Regions from separate parts of the Homo sapiens genome. Here region 2 is linked to region 1. Evidence: promoter capture Hi-C in 16 types of primary human blood cells and fetal thymus (Javierre and others, 2016). All regions are on one chromosome and are shown on one strand. The core of a region is centred on a gene start or on the middle of the fragment in contact, and the rest is flanking DNA. Distances in the headings are between cores, read along the strand shown. Region 1 holds the start of DEPDC1B (DEP domain containing 1B). Region 2 overlaps ELOVL7 (ELOVL fatty acid elongase 7).

Region 1 (6,084 bases), core at 1,946-4,445:
TATTTAGAGACAAGATCTCACTCTGTCACCCAGGCTGGAGTGTAGTGGGGCGATCTTGGCTCACTGCAACTTCCACCTCCCAGGTTCAAGCGATTCTCCCACCTCAGCCTCCTGAGTAGCTGGGACTACAGGAGCGTGCCACCACAGCCAGATAATTTTTGTATTTTTAGTAGAGACAGTGTTTTGCCATGTTGCCCAGGCTGGTCTTGAACTCCTGGGCTCAAGTGATCCACCTGCCTTGGTCTCCCAAAGTACTGGGATTATAGGCATGAGGCATCGCTGGATGACACCATTTTATTGACCCTTTTGTAGAGAAATAGTGTGTGTGTTTGTGTTGCGTGAGTGCAGAAGTCTGGGAAGGGTGCTGCACAGCATTGTCCAGCGTTGGGGAGATGTCCCTGGCCCGTGCAATGACTCTTTGTGTCTTCTGATATGTAGATCCTTTGGAAGTATGCCTTTCTAGTAACAGCCATCTTGTCTATGGCTAATAACAGGCTCTTGGGAAATGCTCAAGAAGCTGGCATGATTTTTTTAAAAAAATATATAGTTCTTTTTATTACTGCTATATGCTGGGCACTTTAAATACATGCTGGGCACTATATTTAGCACTTTACATACATCCTTACAACTCTGCAAGATAATCATTAATATTCCCAGTTTACCAGTGAGTAGATGGAAATTAAATAATTAGCTTGAAGTCACTCCACTGGTAAGCAGTACCAGTCATTATTGAAATCCAGATCTATGGAATTTCACAGTCTGTGATACTTACCGAACTAGAAAGCTGCATAATGCTGGACATAATGTTTTGTATCAGATTCTAGTTTCACCACCATGATAGGTGGTGGCAGGTCTCAGACAAGGCTTTAAAATTCCCTTTCTCCTGCTTCTTGTGTCAAGGACACAAGTATCTCTTTATATTCCTTGCCAAGGACAAGAAGATCTCTTCCATGGAGCTTAGAGGTTAAAAGAAAAAAAGTTCTGATAAGGATTCACTTACTGGAAGTAAGAAAAAAATTTTAAATTGCTTTTTCTAATTACAAAAGCAATATATATGTATCATCTCAGGACATTTCTTGGGCTAAATAAAAACCTAAGGCAGCAAATGGGTGGTGGTAGTGGTGTGGTTTTGAGGATGAGAAGAGGTGGTCCAATCCCTTACTTAGATCTTTCTTATGATGTTATAGGGGAGCCAGAGATCACCTCCAAGCTCCCTTTTACCTCTTAATGAGCTCTCCAGTTGTATCTAGAAACCACACTGACACCAGGAAGATTACCAGGAGAAAAGTATACACATTTTATTAGTTTTATGTGCACATGGGGATCTTCACAAGAGAGTGAAGTCTGAAGAAGTGGCCAAAGTAAGATGCTTTTATTCATTTTTTTAGGTAAAGAGAGATAAATTTGAGAAGAAAAGCCATGACAAAGAAAATCTGGTTAAGGTGTTACAGTAGGTAGCTAGTCAGGCATGAGCAGGGCAGGAGAGGGCTCCCCCTCATACACACACACATCAGGAATGTCAGGCAGCCATCAGGTGATGGTCAGGTGGTTGTTAATTGTCTCTCTAAAATAATAGTTGGTCACAGCCGGCACCAGGGAAAGGCAGTCTCCTAATAGAAAACACTTGAACTGTTGATCAGCAGCTTCCCGATAAGATCTTAGGAGTTGGGCAAGTGGGCTCAAGTATGCGCCTGTGGACAGCTCACTCTAAGGGAAGAATCAGGAGAGAAGTAATGCAAAGCCCCAAAAGCAAGACCCCAGAAGTATGCCAACGTATAAAACCCCAGGTCAAAAGGTCAAACTACGCACTAGATCTCTCAAGTCACTGGCTTGGCCCTCTTCCAAGTGTACTTCCTTTCATTCAAAGCTTTTTAATAAACTTCACTTCTGTTCTAATACTTGCCTTGGTCTCTCCTTTTGCCTTATGCCCCTCAGTCGAACTCTTTCTTCTGAGGAGTCAAGAATTGAGGTTGCTGCAGATCTGTAGGAATTCACTGCCTGTAACATACTTTGGGGCCGTGTCTCGGATATGGGCAGCTGCTAACATATTTTGGTGCCCTGTGACTCGAGTTAACTTCCACAGCTCACAAAGGCAGTAACATTTTCTAGGGAGTCACTAGAAGATATATGTAAAAAATCTCCTATATCTCCTAGTGGAAGATAGGGTTACTTCGTTAAGAATGTTTATTCAGGTCCACTGCAGCCTTCAATTCCAAGCCTTTGGTGATAAAGGCTATTTTCTCACCGTGGTAGGGAGAGGATGCCCATCCCAGAGAAATCTTTGTGGCCTGCTGCATCGAAGAGGCAGGTCAGCTTGCCCTTTCTGAAACTACCATTTCTCCAATGTTTTCCGCTCGAAATAATCAATATACCAATTAGGCATATTTTGGAATGGCACACCTTCACTCCTTCAACGTCTTGTCCTGGGTACTTACCGAGATGACCAAATTTGAGTAGGTGTACAGAGTCCTAAGTATATGGAGTTACTTCATTTGTCCCTCTGAAAGATTGCAAATCGGACTAGCAATTCCCAGGGGGAAAATTCTAAGCAGTCAAAAAAGGACTCACAACCCTATTGCCGAGGACTAAAAGTATCAGCCCAATACAAAACATAGAACTCAAATTAAAGGGGAAAAGACTATCATGAGAACAAACAGAAGAGGAATCGGGGCTCCCTTCCCGCTCTTTATTGCCCTTAACACACTGTCTACGCTCCTTGTGCTCTCTATCCCGTTTTTAAATGTCCCTACACTGGTAAAAGCTGTCGCCTCGCTTCATTTCACTACCGCTTCTCCCAGCGTTAGCAGCACCTCCAGGCTCACAGTGCACTTGGTAGGGAGGACAGGTATTTATCCACGCGGCCCAAAGCTGGGTTTCGGTCGCTGGATAACACCTATTATTGACCCTTTTGTAGAGATAGCGTTGCGTGTGTTTGTGTTGCGCGGACGCAGAAATCTGGGAAGGGCGCTGCACAGCGTTTTCCAGCGCTGGGGAGACGCCCCCGGCCCCTTAGTCGCACCTGCCTAGGTGTGCTCGCACGGTGGGACCAGGGTGGGCAACAGATTTCGCCCCGGGCAAGTTCGCACGCGGAGCTCCCAGCGCCGCGGGTCTCGGAGAAGACGCCTGCCTCCCCGCGCATTTCCGGTGACGTGCTGCCGCGCCGCCCAATCAGCGCCCGCAGCCCGCGGGCTTGGGATTCAAACTGCTGCTCCTCCGGCTGGCGGGGATCAGCGCTGGCGCGGCTGCGGCCGCTGCTGCCTACGCGCCATGGAGCATCGCATCGTGGGGCCCGGGCCGTACCGAGCTACCAGGCTGGTGAGTGAGTGTGCTGGGGCCTGGGCGGAGCACCCGGTGCCGCGAGCCCCCACTCAGCGCGCGGACAGAGTGCTTGTCAGTCTTCGCTTCCGCAGGCCAGCGGGGCTCGGGTGTGGAGCATTTCAGCTGGGACTACTGGGGCTGCCTTTTAGTGGACGAGCCTCAAAGAAAGGCTAACGGGGCCCAGAGCTCAGCCGGCCGGGGGTTAGTGCAGCTTTGTCCATGAGATGTTGACTGGGTTCTCGGCAGTAGATGGCGCCTCTCTGTTTAAAGACCCCAAGACCAGGCTGTTCCCTGCCTTTTGTCCTCTGGAATCTAACCGACCCGGTCGGTAACCTGAGGGGCCACCACGTACCCCGTAACGCTCAGCGTTCGCGGCAGTCCAGGCAGGGCGTGTCTCCTTCCTGAGTGACACCTGATGATACCTGACGGGGTATTCGAATAAACGGTGCCCAGAACAGAGGGGCATCGCGCTGGCCGCATTTCCGGCCCCTGGCGTTTCTGTTTCTGTCAGCACCGATCCAGATGAAGAGCTGGCCAGGACAGATGTTTTAGGAGAGTCTTTGCCGACTCTGAGTTCCTGTTTTTTTTTTTTTTTTTTTCTGGGAGAAAAGCTTTGGTATTGAGGTGTACTTGGTCTGCTTTGACTTGGAACAATAAAGGGTGACAGTTTGGTAATGTCTGTGGCAAGTTTTTAGAGGACTTTCTGTGGAAGTGTAATGGTAATTTGGGAGGACAGTAACTTGCTCCTTGGTCTGCCGACCTCTCTGGCCACATTTAACATGGGAATTACTCTCATAGTTCCATGCATTATAATGAATACACAGGAAAAGATGGGAACTAACATCCAAACTCTTACTCAGCTAGACTCATGGAAGAGGTGAGGATGCTGGGATACAGATAATGTAAATAGAGTTTCCTTTTCTTTCCAAAGCCAGCCACACACTATACCAGTAAGTCAAGCCAGAGCTGAGAAGGCCAGCTTCTGGAAGAGAAATCATAGTTGGGGCTGATGGGTCTTTACTTTTTAAATTTGGCTCATAGATCGCTTTGAGAATCTGATGAAGATTAAGGATCTTCTTCACAGAAAACTGCACATGGCACATACTCATGAAATTTTACATGATTTAAGGGGATGGATCGCTTGAGGTCAGGAGTTCGAGACCAGCCTGGCCAACACAGCAAAACCCCGTCTGTACTAAAAATACAAAAATTAGCTGGGCATGGTGGCATGCGCCTATAGTCTCAGCTACTCAGGAGGCTGAGGCAGGAGAATCTCTTGAACCTGGGAGGCAGAGGTTGCAGTGAGCTGAGATCGCGCCATTGCACTCCAGCCTGGGCAACGAGCGAAACTCCATCTCAAAAAAAAAAAAAAATAATAAGGAGATTGGGAGAGTCTGTGACATTGTTTTATTTGGCATAAAGACAAGCATTTTATTTGCTCATCCTTTGGATCAGTAATCTGGGCTAGACTCATGTCAATGGTTCTTTTGTGGAGGTCACTCATGTGCCACAAATAATGTGACTTGGCTATTACTGGATGATGGAAGATGGCTGCTTGACTTGGTCCTGGCTGTTACCTGGGCCAGATATCTCTAACAGGTTATCGGAGGCATCTTCACGTAGTGGTCTCATGGTTCCAACGTAGCTAAAAGGAAGTTTCAGCTTGTGACTTTTTCTTCAAATCTCATTGGTCAAAGCAAGTTAAACAGCTAAATCCAGATTCTAGAAATTCAACTCCACTTCTTGATGGGCAGGGTGGCAAAGCCACAGAGGTGCATGTGGAGAGGATGGGAAGAATCATTGCACTCATCTTTGCGAACACTCTATACAGTATAGACACCAGAATGATCTGGGGTCAAGAATATTGATAAGTCTAACTTTAGGGAGGAAAATAAGGCATTTGATCATTCCCTTCACCAATTTATTTACAGCACTTACACAAGGAAAACATAGCAAGGCTGTGGTTCTTGACGTGACTAGTCTTCATTCTTCCTGCATTAGACTAAAAAAAAAATACCTCATAATTGGAATTGTATTTTAGTCTCATATTCACAGAATTGTATGAGGTACTTCTTTTCATGGATGCAGAGGGTCCATATATAGATAGTGCTGGATTCTTGAGTCACATTAAAATATTATCAAAGGAATTTGTTTAATTAAAAAAAGGTGCTCTCTGCTCTCTAGAAGTCTTCAGTCCCTAACAAATAATATTCAGGCTAAATTTAGGTTGATTAAGTTAAGAAGATAAATGACATGGATAATTAATGAAACAAACACCTCAGTTTCACCAGAATTTCCCAGGTAATCAATTCAGTTCTCAACTTCATAGTGTTTGAGGAACATAATATTAAACTAAGATGTGGAAAACAGAAAACAATAGCCAATTTTTTTTTTCAAAAGTGAGTATTCCTGCTGTCAGTGATTGCAGCCAACATTGAAGATGCTTCTTTCCATTGTAAAGTCTGTAATTGTTTCCCCAGTGTAATTCAGCTGTGACTTAAAGCTTTTGCTAGGTAAATCATATATTTAATAGTTTGAGACTAGTCCTCTTTTTACTTGTTGGACCTAGTTGGCCTTTCCTCCCTCTATCTGCAGCATACAATTTCTCCCTTTTCCCATCATGCTCATTCTAAACTTTCTTCAGGGGAAGCTTGGTAAAAATCTATTGGGATACAAAAACTAGGCCTTTATTTTCTCCTTTCATGGCTCACTTTACTTTCTCAAAGCATGTACAGCTTTAGAAAAAGCTCTTTGGTGCTTTTTCTA
Region 2 (6,382 bases), core at 855-3,354, 120 kb before region 1:
GCATTTTAAACAGAGAAGGGACATGACTTGAGTTTTTGTTTTGTTGTTTTTAACTTGAGGAAGACATTAAAGAGGGACAAAGATGAAGTCAGGGAGACCAGCTTAGAGGCTACTGCAGCAATCCGGATAAGACAGGACAGTGGCTTGGGCCACCGTTAAAGTAAAGTAGTTGGATTCTAGAATATATTTAGAAGATAGGATTTGTTCATGAATTTTATGTAGAAAGAAATGGAGGCTTTCTTCCATATTTAAAGATCTGGGTGGACTGGCCAGGATTCCCCTATCTATCCATTGCCACATTTGAATCTAACTGTTACTTTTTCACTTCCATAGGAAAATGAAACAAAACTCTCCTTTTTTGAACATCTCACTGTTGGGCTTTGTTGCCTCTGCCTTTCTTAGTCTTCTTTGTCTCTTGTTCTTCGCTTCAATCCCACATGCCTTAGAGACTTTGACGTTTCTCCATCGTTACTCCTGCTGTTGCTCTGGGAGACTTCCACGTCCCTTCAAATGCCGACTTGTGAGCGGCCTTAAAGTTCCTTGTGTGACTCAACTGTGATAACCTTTACAGCACTGTAAAGGTCTCTGGCTGTTCAGCTCTCTTATACCTCCTTCTCTTCACTCTCTCAGAGACTATAATTTTGCCTTGGTGTCTGAATTTTTTATTTATCCTACTTCCATATTTACCTGGCAAAGCCCTAATTCCAAATTAATCCTACAGTAATCCTCTGCACGGATACCCAGGTAGTGTCTGAATTTTTTATTTATCCTACTTCCATATTTACCTGGTAAAGCCCTAATTCCAAATTAATCCTACAGTAATCCTCTGCAGGGATACCCAGGTAGCTGAACAGTGTGGTGGAAAACTGGGTAAAATGGTAAATGGATCAGTTCATGGTTTCCAGTCTTGTCTCAATCCTGACCAGCATTACTTAAGTCTTTCACTCAGTGACTCTCAATCTTGGCTGCATATTAGAATCATCTGGGAACTTAAAAAAATCCTGGAGCCCAGGCTACAGAGACCAGTTAAATCTGAAATTTGGAGGCAGGACCCAAGCATCAGTAGTTACTCATGTTCTTTAGGTGATTCTAATGTGCAACTAAGATTGAGAACCACTACTTTAAACTTGTTCTTGAAGGATTTTCAGTTTCCATTTCCCTGAAAAGCTATTCTATTCTTTCACTAATCTCTAAAAAACCCTCTACCTAACTCCGTTTTATAAACCCTTGGCAATTGATCCCACTTCCTACTTGCTAGAAAAATTGAAGCATCTATTGGTGAATCCTCTTTAATTTTTAGTCCCCATTTAGTCAACTATACATTTAATTAGGGCTTAGATAAGCCAGGCACTGTGGTAGGCATGGGACATAGAGTGGTAAATGGGACAGTTATAGTCCGTGCCTTCCTGGTGCTTATGGTCTATCCCTGCATCCAGGCAGGTCAATTAGGCAATTACTGGACATGGTACATGCTATGGGCGCATGTAGGAAGGGCCCTAATCCAGACTTAGGCTCTGGAGAAGGCTTCCTCCCCTTTACTAACTCATCTATTTCACGCCCTTCTTTCCCGTTTTCCTTCTCGGAGGAGGTATCACCCTTGCTCCAGTGGAGGGAGAATGCTGCCTTGCAGGGCTTCTGACCATCCCCCTCATTTTCTCCTCTAGACCTTCATGGGTTGTTCCTTCTTGTTTCTCTCTATTACTTCATCCCCTCACTGTAAAAATACTCCAACAGTTATCACCTTAAGACTAATAAAGCTTGATTTTGCCTCTCCTTCTTCTCTTCTAGACTTCACCACCAGGCTTCGTGAACAAGACCTGTTCAATGCCTGCTATTAATCACCTGCCTTTGCATTTTGGCTTCAGCCTTATCATTGCTTAATTTCTTCTTCCTTCCAGTCACAGAGGCTTCCAGGTTGGCTGAATTTGCTGAAGACCATTCCACTCTATGCACTGAACCTCTCTGATGCATTTGACCCTATTCATCCCTGCCTCCCTCTTCAGAATTTTTCCCACTTTTGTTTTCATGATCCTGCACGTACTGAGTTCTCCTCATGTCTTTTTGACTCTTTCTTTTTTTGTCTCCTTTGTGAGATTCCATCTTTTGGCCTTCCCCTTAAGTGATGGTATTCTCCAGGCGTTTGTCTTTAGACCACTATTGTTCTCATGCATCTATTACTGTGGTTTTCATCACCAACTAGATGTGAAGTTCCAAAAGCTGTATCCTTAGCCTTGACCTTCCTCCCAAGTGCCTGCTAAACATCTCCACCTGAATGTCCCCTGGGCTTGTCACATTGGGATTTACTTTACCAAACTATCTCTGCCCTTGTTCAGGCCTATAATGATTTCTCATTGGGATGATGGAATTAAACCCCACTCGGTCTTCTTGCTCTTAGGCTCACCCATCACATTCATCCTTTGCATAGCTGATTTGCCTATAGCTAAAGCTTGCACTAAGGGGATTCTTCTGGTACAGGCTTGGGGTTTTCAGTGGGTAGCACTCTGGTGACCTGTGTGGTTGAGCTCTTTTACATATCGAGCTTATGAATAATATTTCACCTTTTCAGCGCTTCCTATTGCCTATGCAGTGTCTTTCACACTCTTCCTCATTTGCACTCCTTTCTCAGTGCATTTGACTATCCTACAACCCCAAAGTACCCAATTCCTACTGTTCACCAAGAAATAGCTCAGTCTCACATCTTTCACAAAGCCTTCTTATCATTCACACCTTCATTTATTTATTCACTGATATTTATTAGACATTTGCATTGTTGCATTGTCCCAGGCAGCAAACAACATTCCCAAAAGGAGGAAGGTAAGAACACACCTGAAGGCATTAGAGAAGTGCTTCTCAAACTATCTGTGGTAATAGACCAACTGGGTTTTTAATTTGTTTTTTTCTTTTTTTCCCTATCGTGGATCAGTAAATGGTCCTATTGCACATAGTGAATATGCAGGTTGCACCACATGTGACTCACCTCACAAATTCAGCAACACTTGAACTGGTCTATGCCTTGTTCAACAAGCATCACATACTTGGATGTCACAGCAATGTCAAATTGCTATAAACATTTCTAAATGCTTACACTTGATTTCTGGAGTTAGCTGGTACCAATCTAGTAAGAAACCATTTGTGCGTCAGCACCAGTCACAGGCCACTGTCCTAGAGTGTTTGCTATAGATGCCATGGTAGAAGAGGGGACAGCTTATGTCAGGGGCTCAGAAGAGACTGGACAGTTTGCCTGGGTGGTTTAGCTGTAAGGGGAACAGAAAGCATGTTAGAGGAAGGCAGAATTATGAAAAGTGAGCTAGGCTTCCCAGCCAGCCGAACAAGGATTTTTAGTCATGAAGAGAAACTGGAGCATAGATAGAGGGGGAAGGAGGAGCACTTGGGCTTGCTGAGTTGGAGGATAGAGGGGACATAGTGGAAAAGGTTGCTGTTAGGCAAGAGATGAAGCTAGAGAGTCACGTGGGGTTGAGATCATTCGTTCAGCGAATACTGTTTGGAAGTCAACCATGTGCCAGACCCTGCCTAGGAATTGGGGTTAGAAGTCCAGCAGGGACAGTTTTGCTCTGCTAGAGATTAGAAGGGTGCTAAGCGTCACCACAGAGTTAGACTTTTTAGTAACTGTAGGCAGACTTTGAAGGATTTTGAAGTAGAGCATGGTGTGACTGCTTTAATCCTTGGGAAGATGACTCTGGTGGCCTTGTGTACAGTGGATGGCTGTTCATTTAGGAAAGTTAGTTGAAAGGTGATTTCAGTAATCTTGGCCACACAAAGACGGAAGTGAACTAGGCAGTAATTATAATTATTACTCAAATTTACCGAGAACTTTGTATAGGGCTTAAAGCTACAGCATACTAAAAACAGATAATTCACTAGGCAGACAAGAGAACATCAACACAAGACAGACTTATCAGTAGACAAACTTATTAGTTCACTTCCTTCTGTGTGTGGCCAAGAGATGATAAAGCTCAGGAAGTAGCAGTCAGGGGTTGAGGGGAGGAAGTGGAGTTGAAGGAAAGGGGAAGGGACTTTTAGGAGAAATATCATAAAGATGGCATACACCACAGGTCTTAAGGGGTCAGTGGAGTTTAAGGATGGCTCACAGTTTCTGATTTGTGATCAGGTTCGTGGTCCAACTCATTGGGAGAACGAATAATAGAAGGGGAGGGTGTTGGAGAAGTGAGAAGTCAAGAGTCTAAAGATGTCGTACCAGTTAGGTGCCTTTCTGTGTTCCTGTAGTGCTTTGTGCTAACTTCTTGCATAGAATTGTCCATTGGGCTGAAGTACTTATGAGCTCCTTGAGAATGTGTACCCATTTTTCTATCCCAGACACTGGTCACAGGGCCTGGCATGTGGAACAGGCTTGACAAATGGTTCTTAAACTAAACCGAAAGATAGTGTATTAGTTTTCTATTGCTGCCATAACAAACCACCACAGACTTTTTAAGTTCATTGAAATAACACAAATGTATTATCTCACAGTTCTGTAGGTCAGAATTCCAGGTTGGCACAGCTGGTTTTTCTGCTCTGTGTTTCACAAGGCCCAATTAAGGTGTTGGTCAATTGGGCTCTTATTAGGAGGCTCCATTTGGAGCTCCAATGGGAGCTTGGAATCCATTTCTAAGCTCATTCAGGTTGTTGGCAGGATTTACTTTTTTTGTGGCTGTAGGACAGAGGTTCCTGTTTCCAGGCTGTCTGTCAGAGGCCACCCTTACCTTCTAGGAACCTCTCCCCAGTCCTTGAATGTGGGCCAGTCCATCCCAGAGCCAGCAAAGTTGCACTGAATATTCATGCTTCAAATCCTCCTTCTTCCAGCCAGAGACAGTTCTCTACTTTTAAGGATGCATTTGATTACATCGGGCCCAACATGATATTCCAGGGTAAATCCCTATTTTAAGGTCTATACATTTAATTACATCTGTGGAAACCCTTTTGGACATATTAGGCGCGGAGGGGAGAGCATCATTTTGTCTACTACAATAGTAATTATCCACCAAGTCAGGTAGGCATTATGATCGTGGTTTTTTTTGTTTTGTTTTGTTTTTCTCTCGAGACAGAGTCTCACTGTCACCCAAGCTGGAGTGCGGTGGCTCGATCTTGGCTCACTGCAACCTCCACCTCCCAGGTTCAAATGATTCTCGTGCCTCAGCCTCCTGAGTAGGCAGGATTACAGGCGCCCGCCTGCCACCACGCCGAGCTAATTTTTGTATATTTAGTAGGGACGGGGTTTCACCATGTTGGCCAGGCTGGTCTCAAACTCCTGACCTCAGGTGATCCACCCACCTCGGCCTCCCTAAGTGCTGGGATTACAGGCATGAGCCACCGTTCCCAGCCTATGATCGTGGTTCTTAAACACTTATGCATTCTAGCACCTCTCATTTGTACAGGGAAGCAAAAGGAGACTGAATTTGCCCAGTGTCAGATGGGAATGGGAACCGAGATAGATCACGACCCTTCAACTTCACTCTTTCTTCTAACCGTCAGTACATTGTCCATCTCATCCATCTGTCTATCCACCTATCCCATCTATTCAACTAGTAGTAATTCATTCATTAATTCATAAACATTTGAGTAGCTGCTTTTTTAAAAGAGTCTATGCTAGGTTGGGAAATGAGGAAGAAAGTGAGATACAAAGATAACACCTGATTTCTGTCAGTTCATTTTTAGTATATTGAGGTCTATATCAAGCTCTGCTCTCCTCTCCTCTCCTCTCCTCTCCTCTCCTCTCCTCTCCCCTCCCCTCCCCTCCCCTCCCCTCCCCTCCCCTCCCCTCCCCTCCCCTCCCCTCCCCTCCCCTCCCCTCCCCTCCCCTCTCCTCTTCTCTTCTTTTTCTTTCTCCCTGTTGCCCAGGCTGGAGTGCAGTGGCACAATATCTCATCCCACTGCAACCTCCACCTCTCAGGTTCAAAATGATTCTCCTGTCTCAGCCTCCCGAGTAGCTGGGATTACAGGTGCCCACCACCATGCCCAGCTAATTTTTTTGTATTTTTAGTAGAGACGGGGTTTCACCATGTTGGCCAGGCTGGTCTCGAATTCCTGACCTCGTGATCCACCCGCCTCAGCCTCCCAAAGTGCTGGGATTACAGGCGTGAGCCACCATGCCCAGCCTCAAGTTTTCTTAAATCCATGCTGTCTACTGATAGGTTTGTCTTGTGTTGATGTTTTCTTCTCTGTGTAGCGAATTATCTGTTTTTAGTAAGCTATAGCTTCAAGCCCCGTACCAAGTTCTCAGTAAATGTGAGTAATTATTATAATTACTGTTTAGTTTACTTCCTTCTATGTATGGCCATAAAATTTAGGAACCATTACTACATGTATCTTATCATTGCTTTCATTTTTAACTTTATTCAAGTAACCAGTGTTACAGTTGCTTATT

The links. The method cuts DNA at HindIII sites, captures the fragments that hold promoters and counts their contacts. A CHiCAGO score of 5 or more calls a contact.
Region 2: a contact is called between a fragment that was not itself captured here and the fragment with the promoter of DEPDC1B in region 1, in 1 of 17 cell types (megakaryocytes). The highest score is 5.7, in megakaryocytes.

Annotation. Positions count from the first base shown.
Region 1 is chr5:60,697,277-60,703,360 of GRCh38, reverse strand. It overlaps DEPDC1B (DEP domain containing 1B), which reads left to right and starts at 3,195. Exons shown (of 11, transcript NM_018369.3): 1 at 3,195-3,315. The coding sequence starts at 3,268. It overlaps LOC124900982 (a long non-coding RNA gene), which reads right to left and starts at 3,121. Exons shown (of 2, transcript XR_007058779.1): 1 at 3,020-3,121; 2 at 1,274-1,707. The HindIII fragment of the contact is 2,062 bases long and covers 1,870-3,931 here.
Region 2 is chr5:60,818,458-60,824,839 of GRCh38, reverse strand. The region is part of intron 1 of ELOVL7 (ELOVL fatty acid elongase 7); the gene reads left to right. Among named protein-coding and RNA genes, the nearest start is that of ELOVL7, 23 kb to the left of the region's middle. RefSeq lists a silencer at 2,452-2,511. The HindIII fragment of the contact is 689 bases long and covers 1,760-2,448 here.